2 separate regions of the Homo sapiens genome follow, and region 2 is linked to region 1. The links are contacts of gene promoters, found by promoter capture Hi-C in blood cells and fetal thymus (Javierre and others, 2016). All regions are on one chromosome and are shown on one strand. Each heading gives the region's core, a stretch centred on a gene start or on the middle of the fragment in contact. The rest is flanking DNA. Distances are from core to core; before and after follow the strand shown.

What was found. The method cuts DNA at HindIII sites, captures the fragments that hold promoters and counts their contacts. A CHiCAGO score of 5 or more calls a contact.
Region 2: a contact is called between a fragment that was not itself captured here and the fragment with the promoter of GSG1 in region 1, in 2 of 17 cell types (M0 macrophages and naive B cells). The highest score is 6.7, in M0 macrophages.

What each region holds. Positions count from the first base shown.
Region 1 is chr12:13,102,160-13,108,571 of GRCh38, forward strand. It overlaps GSG1 (germ cell associated 1), which reads right to left and starts at 1,508. Exons shown (of 7, transcript NM_001080555.4): 1 at 1,306-1,508. The coding sequence starts at 1,353. It overlaps LOC105369666 (a long non-coding RNA gene), which reads left to right. Exons shown (of 2, transcript XR_931369.3): 2 at 1-287. The HindIII fragment of the contact is 5,406 bases long and covers 566-5,971 here.
Region 2 is chr12:12,920,746-12,926,819 of GRCh38, forward strand. No RefSeq gene overlaps it. Among named protein-coding and RNA genes, the nearest start is that of GPRC5D-AS1, 3.9 kb to the right of the region's middle. RefSeq lists enhancers at 214-358, 1,451-1,595 and cis regulatory regions at 286, 1,443-1,530, 1,523. The HindIII fragment of the contact is 2,647 bases long and covers 901-3,547 here.

The sequences.
Region 1 (6,412 bases), core at 258-2,757:
AGGCCACAAAGCTAGTAAATGGTAAAGTCAACACTGGCAATCTTTGAGGACTGTTCGCCTGACTCATCACCAGGCTGCCACTCAGTAAAAGCCAAGGCACAGTCACCTTTAACAAAATGTACAGATTGCAGGCCAGATTTATGGGACCTCCTGCAGATTGAGGCAATGGATTAAGTGTACTTTATACTTCTCAGGTACATATTAGCAACCAGACGCTCCCATATTCCCTCTGTGTCTCTCCTGGAAAACCACTGATAAAGAACAATAATAAAATTTATTCTAAGCCATGACTGGCTTTTTCTGTCATGTTCACATCCACTTCTTTGTCATCTATTCACTTGGGGCTGCTTCTGAATTAGGGAAGCTGCCTGAACCCACACTCCGATGGCTCTTCAGAACCACCAGCTCAGCTCTGCAGTCCCAGAAGTGCCTCTTAAGTTATCCTGTTCTTTCCTTTGAGATCCTAACTTCCAGCTGGTCAACAACATACCACATTGCTCCCTGTGTTGGAGTGTATGTACGTGTGTGTGTGTTTGTGTATGTGCTAGTTTGCTGGCTAATTGCAAGCTTCATTTTTCTCTCCTGAGAAAGGCAAGATATCTGAGAATGAACACCATTTGTTTTTTTAAGTAATCCTTAGAGCTGAAAGTTGGGAGGCTGGTCGTTTCTGAATGTAGGTCAAATGCTAAACAAGCCGCAACTTCTCTGCAGAGTGTGAGAGTCTTCCTGGTCTGGAAGGATCCCTGAAGATTCTGCTGGATTCTCTGAGACGAGAAAGAGCTTGACTGTGTGTTGTCCTTCCCAGTTCCAGATCAGAGCTGCCTTCCAGCAGGACCTTGGGGATGCCCCACTGTTCTCTGGCATAGAGCTTGATGTCTGCTCTTTCAGCTCACTGGGGTGACACACAGCTCTATTGTTGCCACCGCTACTGGGCCTTTACCAGGCTCCAGATTTTGGCAACGGGAATAATGCAGATGAAAGGAAAAAAGGAGAGGCATAGGGAGCCCTGGGAACAGAAAGGAGAAGGAAGATGATGAGACAAGGGAAGAAGAAATGGAAGTTTTAATGAAGGAAGATGAAAAGGTAATAGGCCAAGGTATGGACATACCAGTTTTATCTATGAAAACTGGGCTGAGTGACACATTTTCATTCCATTTTGTAGAACCCTATAGTGCATTTCCAAGCTCTTTACTGTGACCATGTGAAATACATGAAATTGATGAGTTAGTGTAACCTGTGTTACAAATCCAGCAGTAAAGATATGTGTATGAGATGTTCATGAGATTTCAAAATCACTGTACCTACCTCCTGGGTGAGGCAAACATTTTGAGTCAGTTGAGAGGGATCGCTCATTCACTCTTGCAGCGGGAAGGCAGAGAAGTTTCAGTTTATCTTCTGTTCTGTCTCAATCAGTTGGGTAGAATGAGTGTTTAGCGTGAGGATGAATCAGGTCCCCTCTTGCCAGCAGAGGGGTAAGGTGGTGTGTGGTGGATTGGAGAGGATGTCCTGAGGGCCAGACACCAGCCAGGGCGGGGTTGGGTGACCCGTGGGGTTTATTCTGTGATGTCACAACGGCAGTCAGGGGTCTCCCTGTTGCTCCCTCAGCCTCCTCCCATAAGGATTGGGGGGGGTCATGCTGGGTACCTACCAGTGGCTGGATGTCTTCTGAGGTCGTCCAGATCAGTGCTTATCTTATTGTGCATAAGATTCACCTGGGGAACTTAGTCAAGTGCAGATCCTGACTTAGTCAAGTGCAGAGTCTGGGATGGCTCTCACGTGAGTCCAGCCAGACCACACTGAGTTGTGAGACTCTAGACCAGTGCTGTCAAAGCAAAATGCAATGTGGGCAGCATATGTCATTTAAAATTTTCTGGTAGCCACATTAAAAAAAGTAAATTGGACACACATACTGTGATACAGCAATCATATGTTATACAATACTATGTTTAAAATGTAGCCCTCCCCACACAATAAAGTTGGGTTTAATGAAAAATATTTTATACTACTTTCATTTTAAAATTAAAATTTAGTGAATTCAAATTACATAAAATTAGAAATTCAGTTGCTCAGTTGCACTATCCATATCATAAGGGCTCCACAGCCACACATGGCAAGTAGCTACTGTATTGGATGGCACAACTCAAGGCCATTCCCTGAAAAGGTAACAATGTACAGAAATTACCATTCTAAAGGGCTAGTATCTGGAAACCCAGCAAACATTCACTAACATCATTTTAATGAATACATAATTAGTGTTTGGGGACTGTTAATATGGAGGCATAACTCTCGGAGACTGGAAGAGGGCCTCATCCAGGATTCCAGCTAACAGTCTGGATGGGGCCCTCTGCCCTGTGAAACCTGTCACACTCAGTCCTCCTCTGAGCTTTTGCCAGGGTTCCCCTCACTGGGATCCCTTCCTTCTCCTTGCTGCCCTGCCTAAATCTTACACAACCTCAGGGCACATGATTCCAGTCTCACTACCTTGTGGCTCTAGCCCTCCTTACTCCCCATTTCCTCTTTGCTCATACAGCATGCCTGCTTTGCTTTTGGTGTGTTAGTCTGTTTCTCTCGTGAAATTCTAAGCTGCTTGAGGACAGAATCTGGTTTTTTACTTCTATCGTGCTTAATATAGTGCCAAGGGCATAGTAGCTGCTCAAGAAATATTTATTATTTTATTTAATGACCTAAACTACCTAAGGAAGTATCTAAGAGAGAACATCGGATCTCGAAGTGCCAATAACTTCCCCAATGGAACAACATGCCTTATTTTTGGCACATCTTAAATTGATCAAGATGTCCGTTATAAGTTAATTTATAAATTTAATACAAATAACCATGAGTATTTTAAAAGACCAACACAAGTTGATATTAAAGTTTATATGGGAAAAAAATACACAAGACTAGCTAGGAAAACCCTGAAAAGGAAGAGCTCTGAGGTGGTGCTAGCCCTAATTGATATAAAGCATACTACAAAGCCTCTATGATTAAAACAACATGGCACATGTATACATATGTAACAAACCCGCACGTTGTGCACATGTACGCTAGAACTTAAAGTATATTAAAAAAAACAAAAAAACCAAAAAAAAACAATGTGGTACTGGTGCATGACTAGACAAACAGGCCAATGGAAGAGAACAGAAAGTCTAGAGATAAACACAGCTATGTATAGACTTCCAGTATAGGACAAAGGTGATATCTGTAATCACTGGGGCACAGATGATTTTTTTAAGAAATGTTGTTGGGATAAACTAGATAGCCATTTAGAAAAATATAAATTATATTTATTTAAAAATCATATACAAGAATAAACTCTAGATGGACTAGAGATCTGAATTTTAAAAATGAGATTATGGCCGGATGCTTAATCCCAGCACGTCAGGAGGCCGAGGCAGGAGGATAACTTGAGCCCAGGAGTTCAAGACCAGCCTGGGCAACACAGTGAAACCTTATTGCTACGAAAAGTACAAAAATTAGCTGGGCGAGGTTGTGAGCGCTTGTAGTCCCAGCTACTTGGGAGACCGAGGTGGGAGGATTGCTTGAGCCCGGGAAGTTGAGGCTGCAGTGAGCCATGATCCTGCCACTGAACTCCAGCCTGGGCGATGCTGGGTGACAGCGCAAGACTGCCTCAAAAAAAGAAAAAAAAAAAAAAAAGAGAGAGAGAGAGAGAGAGACATATGAATGACCCTAAATATATGAAAAAATGTTCAACTTCACATATAGTAAACATAATGCAATTTAAAACTAGAATGAAATATCACTTCTCATCCACCAGACTGACAAAATTATAAAGTTTGACAGTGCAATCTGTTGATGATGCTGTGGGGAACAGACGCTCTCACTCATTGCTAGTGGGAATCCCAAATGGTGTACCCCTTTGGTGAATTTGGCAATATCTAACACAACTGCATGTGCATCCCATCACCCAGAAATCCTACTTCTAGAAATTTACCCTGAAGATACACCTCCAACAATAGGCATGAAGCTATTCATTACAACATATTTGTAATTGTAAAATATGGAAACTACCTAAATAAGAATTGGTGGAATTAATTATGGTTCATACACACAATGAGGTACTATGCAGCTATAAAAAACAAAGCAAACAAGGGAGATTTCTATGAACTGATATGGAATGCTAAGTACATAAGAGGATATATAGTATACTATCTTTTGTGTAAAAAAGAAAAGAGGGGAAACAAAATGTACATCTATCTGCTTATTGTTACCAAACGAAGTTCAGGAAGGATAAACCAGAAAACAATAAAGTTGGTTGTTTACTGGGGGTGGGGAATGGAAATGATTCTGGAAGGAGTGACACTTCTCTGAGAAGTTTTTATGATATAGTTTTGACTTTTGGGAGCATGCTAATGTTCCACATGTTTGAAAATAAAATTATAACAAGTTGAGAAGGAAAAGAAAAGCCTGAAACCAAAAGCAAATGGAAACAAGTGACCTCAGTGGTATTTCAGATAAATACTATAACCACGCAGAAAGGGAAAAAACAAAAGAAAGAACAAATCCAAGGAACTCTTGAATACAGTGCTTGACTATCTACTGGTCAGTCTTGGGTAAAGTTGAGTGGGGGAGAATTGCAAACAACTCCTGAACTCTTTTTATTTATTTATAACTGTAAAAAATTTATTTTATTTTAGATTCAGTGGGTACATGTGCAGGCTTGTTACATGAGTATACTGTGTGATGCTGAGGTTTGGGCTGCTAATGATTTCATCACTCAAGTAGTGAACATAAGTGAACATGGCATCCGATAGATAGTTTTTCAATACCTGCTGCCCTCTCTCCCTAACCCCCTTTAGAATTCCCAGTGTTTATTGTTCCCATTTTTGTGTCCATGTGTACCCAATGTTTAGCTCCCACTTATAAATATGCTGTATTTGGTTTTCTGTTTCTGCATTAACTTGCTTAGAATAATGGCCTCCACCTGCATCCATGTTGCTGCAAAGGACATGATTTCCTTCTTGTTTATGGCTGTGTATTAATAGTATTCCAGGGTGTATATGTACCACATTTTAGGAATCTAACCCACCATTGATGGGCAGCTGGGTTGATTCTGTATGTTTGCTATTGTGAATAGTGCTGTGATAAACACACAAGTACAGGCTGAGTGAGATGGCTCACACCTGTAATCCTAGCACTTTGGGAGGCTGAGGCAGGAGGATTGCTTGAAGCCAAGAGTTCAAAACCAGCCTGGGCAGAAAAGTGAGACCCTCTCTCTGAAAAAAATAAACAAACCCCTCAAGTCAGCTGGGCGTGGTGGCCCGTGCCTGTAATCCCAGCTATATGAGAAGCTGAGGGAGGATGGCTTGAGCCCAAGAGTTTGAGGCTGCAGTGAGCTATGATCATGCCACTACATTCCAGCCTGTGTATCAGAGCAAGACTCTCTTAAAAAAAACAAAATAATACAAAACCCCAAAAAACATACAAGTGCAGGTGTCTTTTTGATAGAATGATTTATTTTCCTTTGAGTGTGTACCCAGTAATGAGATTGCTGGGTTGAATAGTATTTCTAATTTTAGTTCTTTGAGAAATTTCCAAACTGCCTTCCACAGGGGCTGAACTAATTTGCATTCCCAGCAACAGTGTATAGGCGTTCTCTTTTCTCTACAACCTTGCTAACATCTGTTATTGTTTGATTTTTTGGTAATAGCCATTCTGATTGGTGTGAGATGGTATCTCATTGTGATTTTGATTTGCATCTCTCTGATAATTAGTGATTTTGATAATTTTTTCATATGTTGGTTGGTGGCTTGTATGTTTTCTTTTAGAAGTGTCTGTTCATGCTTTTGCCCACTTTTTAATGGAATTATTTGTTTTTTTTTCTTGTTGATTTGTTTCAGTTCCTTATAGATTCTGGATATTAGGTGTTTGTCAGATGCATAGTTTGCAAATATTTTCTCCCCTTAAGTAGGTTGTCTGTTTACTCTGTTGATAGTTGCTTTTGCTGTGCAGAAGCTTTTTAGTTTAGTTAGGTCCCAACTGTCAATTTTTGTTTCTGTGGCGTTTGATTTTGAGGACTTAGCCATGAATTCTTTGCCTAGACCAATGTCTAGAAGAGTACTTCCTAGGTTTTCTAGGATTTTTATAGCTCGAGGTCTTACATTTAAGTCTTTAATCCATCTTGAGTTAATTTTTGTATATGGTGAGAAATAGGGTCTGGTTTCGTTCTTCCGCATATGGCTAGCCAGTTTCCCAGCACCACTTACTGAATAGGTTATTCTTTCCCCATTGTTTAATTTTGTTGACTTTGTTGAAGATCAGTTGGTCGTAGGTATGTACCTTGGTTTCAGGGGTCTCTATTCTGTTCCATTGCTATGTGTTCATGTTTTGTACCAGGTACCATGCTGTTTTGGTTACTGTAGCCTTGCAGTATAGTTTGAAGTTGGGAAGTATG
Region 2 (6,074 bases), core at 974-3,473, 180 kb before region 1:
GCCTCCTAAAGTGCTGGGATTACAGGCGTGAGCCACTGTGCCCGGCCTAAGCACTTTAGATGTATAATATAATTTAATATGTATAAAAACCTCATGCGTTATTACTTTTTTTTTTTGAGATGGAGTTTAGCTCTTGTTGCCCAGGCTGGAGTGCAATGGCGTGATCTCGGCTCACCGCAACCTCCGCCTCCCAGGTTCAAGCAATTCTCCTACCTCAGCCTCCCGAGTAGCTGGGATTACAGGCATGCGCCACCACGCCTGGCTAATTTTGTATTTTTAGTAGAGACGGGGTTTTTTCCGTATTGGTCAGGCTGGTCTCGAACTCCTGACCTCAGGTGATCCGCCCACCCCGGCCTCCCAAAGTGCTGGGATTACAGGCGTGAGCCACCGCGCCTGGCTGGGGTTATTACTATTGTTATCCCTTTTTTATTTAACACCTGCAGACACTGAAGCACCCAGGGGCTAGGTAACACCGAAGGCAACACAGCTGTCAAGTGATTGACTGGGAGCCAGGGTGGGGTGGGGTGCCTCCAGATTTCTTATCCATAACTCCCTGCTGCCTCCCAACCGTCTTTAATAACGATTGCCTAACAGGTGGCTCTGTGGTTAGAAATTTTAGGCAAGCAGATTCCAGAAGAGCTTCCTGCAAAATAGCGGGTCCTCTCTTGGCTGGTGATGTTTAAGCTCAATGAACTAATCAGTTCAATGCTATTCAAATAGCATGCGCTCCATTCCTAAGGCAACTTGCATTCTAAAGCAAAGTTATGAAGCAGAGAATTGTCTTGTAACACACAACTACCAATGACATCCAATAATAACACTTATTAAAAGGTGAGGACACATCCTCCAGCTCTGCTGGGGACAATGTGGGGAATTCTGTCTGGAGCAAGGCCTTCGATAAGCTTGAGGCAGCTTGTAACTCTTAGCGTTTAGACTTTCACTGGCTGAGTTGTTATTCTTCATATTTGAATCTAAGAGCCATGGAGAGTTCTTAGATTGTTAGTTTTCCTGGACAGTTTTCTTTCCCTATACCTCCAACCCAAACACTTCCTTTGCCCTTCAGGTGAAAATGGAAATGCTCTTCACTCTTGGGATGGGCCCTCACCTTTTAGTAAGTGTTATGGTTGGGTGTCGATTAAAATTAAGGGGGCTGTGTGTTGCAGGACTACTCCCTTGTTCAGAGCCTTGCTTTAGAATGGGAGCTGCCACGGGAACAGAGCTCATGCTATGTTAATATGACTTTATTGCGGACACGGTGATGATCTAAAATCCTTTGCAAAGGCACTTGAATTTTGTAAACACCACTGTGTTCTCCCACTCCAGATACATGTAGTCAATGTCTGAACTATTGCTTGATTTCGTTCTTTAGACAAAAACTACTGTCTTTTTAAGAAAAAAAAAAAAAAAAAAAAAAAAAAACAAAAAAACAAAAAACTACTCCACGTTGTCTTTGAGGGTGATTAATTGCATAAGAAAGAACCCCATGATTCGTGTTACTCAGCAGAATCAAAAAGGCTTGTGCATTGTACTTGGGTAGCATGAGTTTAGTCATCTGAATCACAAACCCATGACCTCTGGATACTTGGGAGCCAGAATGAGGGCCCAAGGGAGCATCTGACTGTACTGAATTAGAGGGAGGCAGAGGAAGGGGTGGGGTGCCAGGGCTTCCTTGGGAAGAAAGCGTCAGAGTGAGGGTGAGGGGATGGGGAGTGAGAGCCGATAAGTAGGAGGAAGAGTTGTAAAATCAGAGGCCTGGCAAAGTAATGAAGATAAAAGAATGTTACACTAAAGTTAAAATTAAGGACTTAAGAATCAGGAATTTGGCCGGGTGCAGTGGCTCGTACCTGTAATGCCAGCACTGTGGGAGGCCGAGGCGGGCAGATCACGAGGTCAGGAGTTCGAGACCAACCTGACCAACATGGTGAAACCTTGTCTCTATTAAAAATACAAAAAATTAGCCAGGCGTGGTGGCATGCGCCTGGAATCCCAGCTACTCAGGAGGCTCAGGCAGGAGAATCACTTGAACCAGGGAGGTGGAGGTTGCAGTGAGCTGAGATCATGCCATTGCACTCCATCCAGCCTGGGTGACAGAGCAAGACTCCATCTCAAAAAAAAAAAAAAAAAAAAAAGAGAATCAGGAATTCAGGAAAATATTGTTACAATTCCCAAAGGGTCAGACCTGTGTGTGAAATTGGGCAGATGGGTTTGACCTCATCATAGAACGTCATTCCAGTTTTTCCTCTACGTTTCTAGAACGCCCTGGCTTCATGAAAGACGGGGGACAAGGTGAGGAGGAGCAGCCTGCTAAATGCACAGAACCCGGCATGCTCAGAGATGGTTCTTTTGATTATGTTGGCCGTCCCCTCCCCGCCCCCAAGGCCCTGGCCAAGTCCTCTGTCCTTTCCTTTCTCTGACAAACCTGGCGGCAGTGCCAGAAACAATGAATTGATGAATTGGTACCTGTATATTTTTCCCAGATCATCAGGGCTACAGTCTGCATGCATGGGTGTTGCATTTAACTTTAAAAGAAAACTAGAGTTTAGAAAGAAAAATGGCTGTTTATATATTCTGCATAATGGAGAGGTTTCCTTCCTTCCTTCCTTCCCTCCTTCCCTCCCTCCCTCCTTCCTTCCTTCCCTCCCTCCCTCCCTCCTTCTTTTCTTCTCTTTTCTTTTCTTTCTTGACGGAGTCTCGCTTTGTTGCCCAGGCTGGAGTGCAGTGGCGCGATCTGGGCTCACTGCAAGCTCCGCCTCCTGGGTTCACACCATTCTCCCGCCTCAGCCTCCCAAGTAGCTGGGACTACAGGCGCCTGCCACCACGCCCGGCTAACTTTTGGTACTTTTAGTACAGATGGGGTTTCACCGCATTAGCGAGCTTGGTCCCAATCTCCTGACCTTGTGATCCGCCCGCCTCGGCCTCCCAAAGTGCTGGGATTACAGGCATGAGCCACCGTGCCCGGCCTCTCTTCTCTTTCCTTTTCTTTCTCTCTTTCTCTCTTTCTTTCTCTCTTTCTCTCTTTCTTTCTCTCTCTTTCTCTCTTTCTCTTTCTTTCTTTTCTTTTCTTTCCTTCCTTCCTTCCTTCCTTCCTTCCTTCCTTCCTTCCTTTTCTTTCTTCCCTCCCTCCTTCCTTCCTTCCTTCCTTCCTTCCTTTCCTTCCTTCCTTCCTTCCTTCCTTCCTTCCTTCCTTCCTTCCTTCCTTCTTTCTTTTTCTTTCTTTCTTTCTTTCTTTCTTTCTTTCTTTCTTTCTTTCTTTCTTTCTTTCTTTCTTTCTTTCTTTCTTTCTTCTTTTTCTTTCTTTTCTTTCTTGTCTTGCCCTGTCACCCAGGCTGGGCAATCTACCTGCCCTAGGCTTCTGAGTAACTTGGACTACAGGTGTGCACCATCACACCTAGCTTTTTTTGATTTTTTATAGAGATGGCGGGGGTGGGGGGGCTCTCTCTATGTTGCCCAGGCTGGTCTTGAACTCCCAAGCTCAAGCAGTCCTTCTGCCTTGGCCTCCCAAAGTGCTGAGATTACAGGTGTCAGTCACCATGGCTGGCTGTGGAGAAGCTTTCATGCTCCCCAGACATCTTCTTCAGTAGTCTGTGAGAATCTCAGAAATTCCTGGTATGTGTGGGGTACCGGCTGGTGGCTGTGTGTACAGACACACCCACACATCCACCCACATCCATGTCCACTCCTGTATACACCAATTGGCCGTAAGCCTAAGGTATGGAGAGTCATTTCTACACGTGAGATGAAACCAGTGCCCTTGCCTCCTATCACCGTATGTGTATGTGCACACTGTCATGCCAAATAAAACACATTTCCATTCAAGGCAGTAGCAAAACAGGGTTGCCGATTGTGTGGCTGAAAAGCAGTGCATGTCACCAACTGTCCCTAACTCACGGTGAGTGATCCATCCCTGTGACCTTGATTTTCACGATCTTTCATTTTTATTTACCTTTTATCTTTTGTAGAGATGGGTTCTCACTATGTTGCCCAGGCTGATCTTGAACTCCTGGGATCGAGCAGTCATCCCTCCTCGGCCTCCCAAGTAGCTGGGACTACAAGCTGGCCCAGATATAAGCAGGCAGTTTTTAATTTTTTTTATTATTATTTTTTGAAACGAACTCTCTATTGCCCAGGCTGGAGTGCAGTGGCGCGATCTCAGCTCACTGCAACCTCCACCTCCCAGGTTCAAGAGATTCTCTTGCCTCAGCCTCCCGAGTAGCTGGGATTACAGCTACTTGGCTGTACACCATGCCCGGCTAATTTTGTATTTTTAGTAGAGACGGGGTTTCACTATGTTGGCCAGGCTGATCTCCAACTCTTGATCTGCTCACTTCAGCCTCCCAAAGTGCTGGGATTACAGGCGTGAGCCACCGTGCCCGGCTAGAGCAGGCAGTTTAATGCTGGGCTCCCATAGTGGTAAGTCTTCAGGGTACTGAAATTTCGAATTTAGATTTATTTGTTGGTTTGTGTGTTTTTCTCTATTATATAGGCTTTAGAAGGACAGAAATTTGTTCTGTTTTTCTCAGTATTCCCTGAGCCTAGGACAGTGCCTGTACACATGGGTAAAATGAATAAACTTTTTGGGAGAAGGGTATTTTTTTTTCTTTTGTCACAGGCTAATTAGAATGATGTCCTTTCACTCAGAGAACACAGCCCTCAGGTTCTTCTCTTGTCTATTCTGGTGTCTTGAATGCCAATTTGTCTTCAAATAATTTTGATGAATTTCAGCTGATCAACCATCAGATTTTTGTGTGTGTTTCCATATAAGAACACTTAAATCCAGTGTGATAAAAGCAACTTACAAGCCCGAGGCTTGGAAGAAAGGAAAGGAATTTTTTACTTCTTGGGCTGAATACATTTCATCACATCCCAATTTATTTCCCTGAGGCTTTTCTTTGTCAAGCTTGGGAAAGTGCTGTTTCCTAGGAGAACCACACAAGAACAAACTTTAAATATGAGAAAAGAGAAAAGCACACCCCAAAGCAAAACAAAACAAAAAAAACCCCCAAAAACAATAAGAGAAGCATTTTAGATGGATTTTCTCCAAAGATCGATTGCATTGTGTTCCAAACGCATTTCTTTTCTTTCTTTTTTAAATTTTTTTTGAGATGAAGTTTCACTCTGTTACGCAGGCTGAGGTGCAGTGGCATGATCTTGGCTGACTGCAACCTCCACCTCCTGGGTTCAAGTGATTCTCCCGCCTCAGCTTTTCAAGTAGCTTCAGGTGCCCACCACCATGCCTGGCTAATTTTGTATTTTTAGTAGAGATGGGGTTTCACCACGTTGGCTAGGCTGGTCTCAAACTCCTGACCTCAAGTGATCCACCCGCCTCAGCCTCCCAAAGTGCTGGGATTACAGGCGTGAGTCACTGTGCCCAGTGTAAAGTGCATTTCTTTTCTAAACTGACTTGAACCAAAATGGATGAACAAGGACCCTTCAGATGATATACACCAAACTGGAAACAGATGAGAATGCCAGCAAATGGGCTCAGGAGGAATTTATCTTCTTGAATTTTCAGGCATAAGCTGATTTTGACAATGTTTTCTCTTACAAAAACAGGGTGAGCGTGTTCTGGATGGAGGCTGGGTGGGAACCCCAGGTCAGAGCAGATGTGGAACTGGGGCATGGGGAAGACTATACCCCAAAGAGGTGGGGGTGGGGAAGAAGATGAAAAGTGAAAGACGAATGTTCCCAGGGGCAGGAATTCATAAACTTTTTCCATTGATTCTGCCCTCTCAAGCCAATCACTTTCTGCCTTTTTGGACCAAATTGGGAAAGCCTGGACAGTCTGCTACAAACCAGACCAGAGCCTTTCCTTGTCAACAGAGCAGCGCTTCCTAAACTTATACTGCGTTAAAAATCACATGGGAATTTGTTAAAAATGCAGTGTCTGGAGGCCTCCTAGAGGTTCTGATTTAGTTGGTCTGAGTCAGGGTCCAAGAATTTGTATCCAGAGCAAGTATCCCGGCGATTCTTCTGCTTGGACAGGGTTGGGACAAGGCGTCGGCCAGTCATCCACATTGTCTTTTTGCAGATCCACTAATCTTCCATGCAGGCTCCAACAGCTCCTTCCCGGCCTG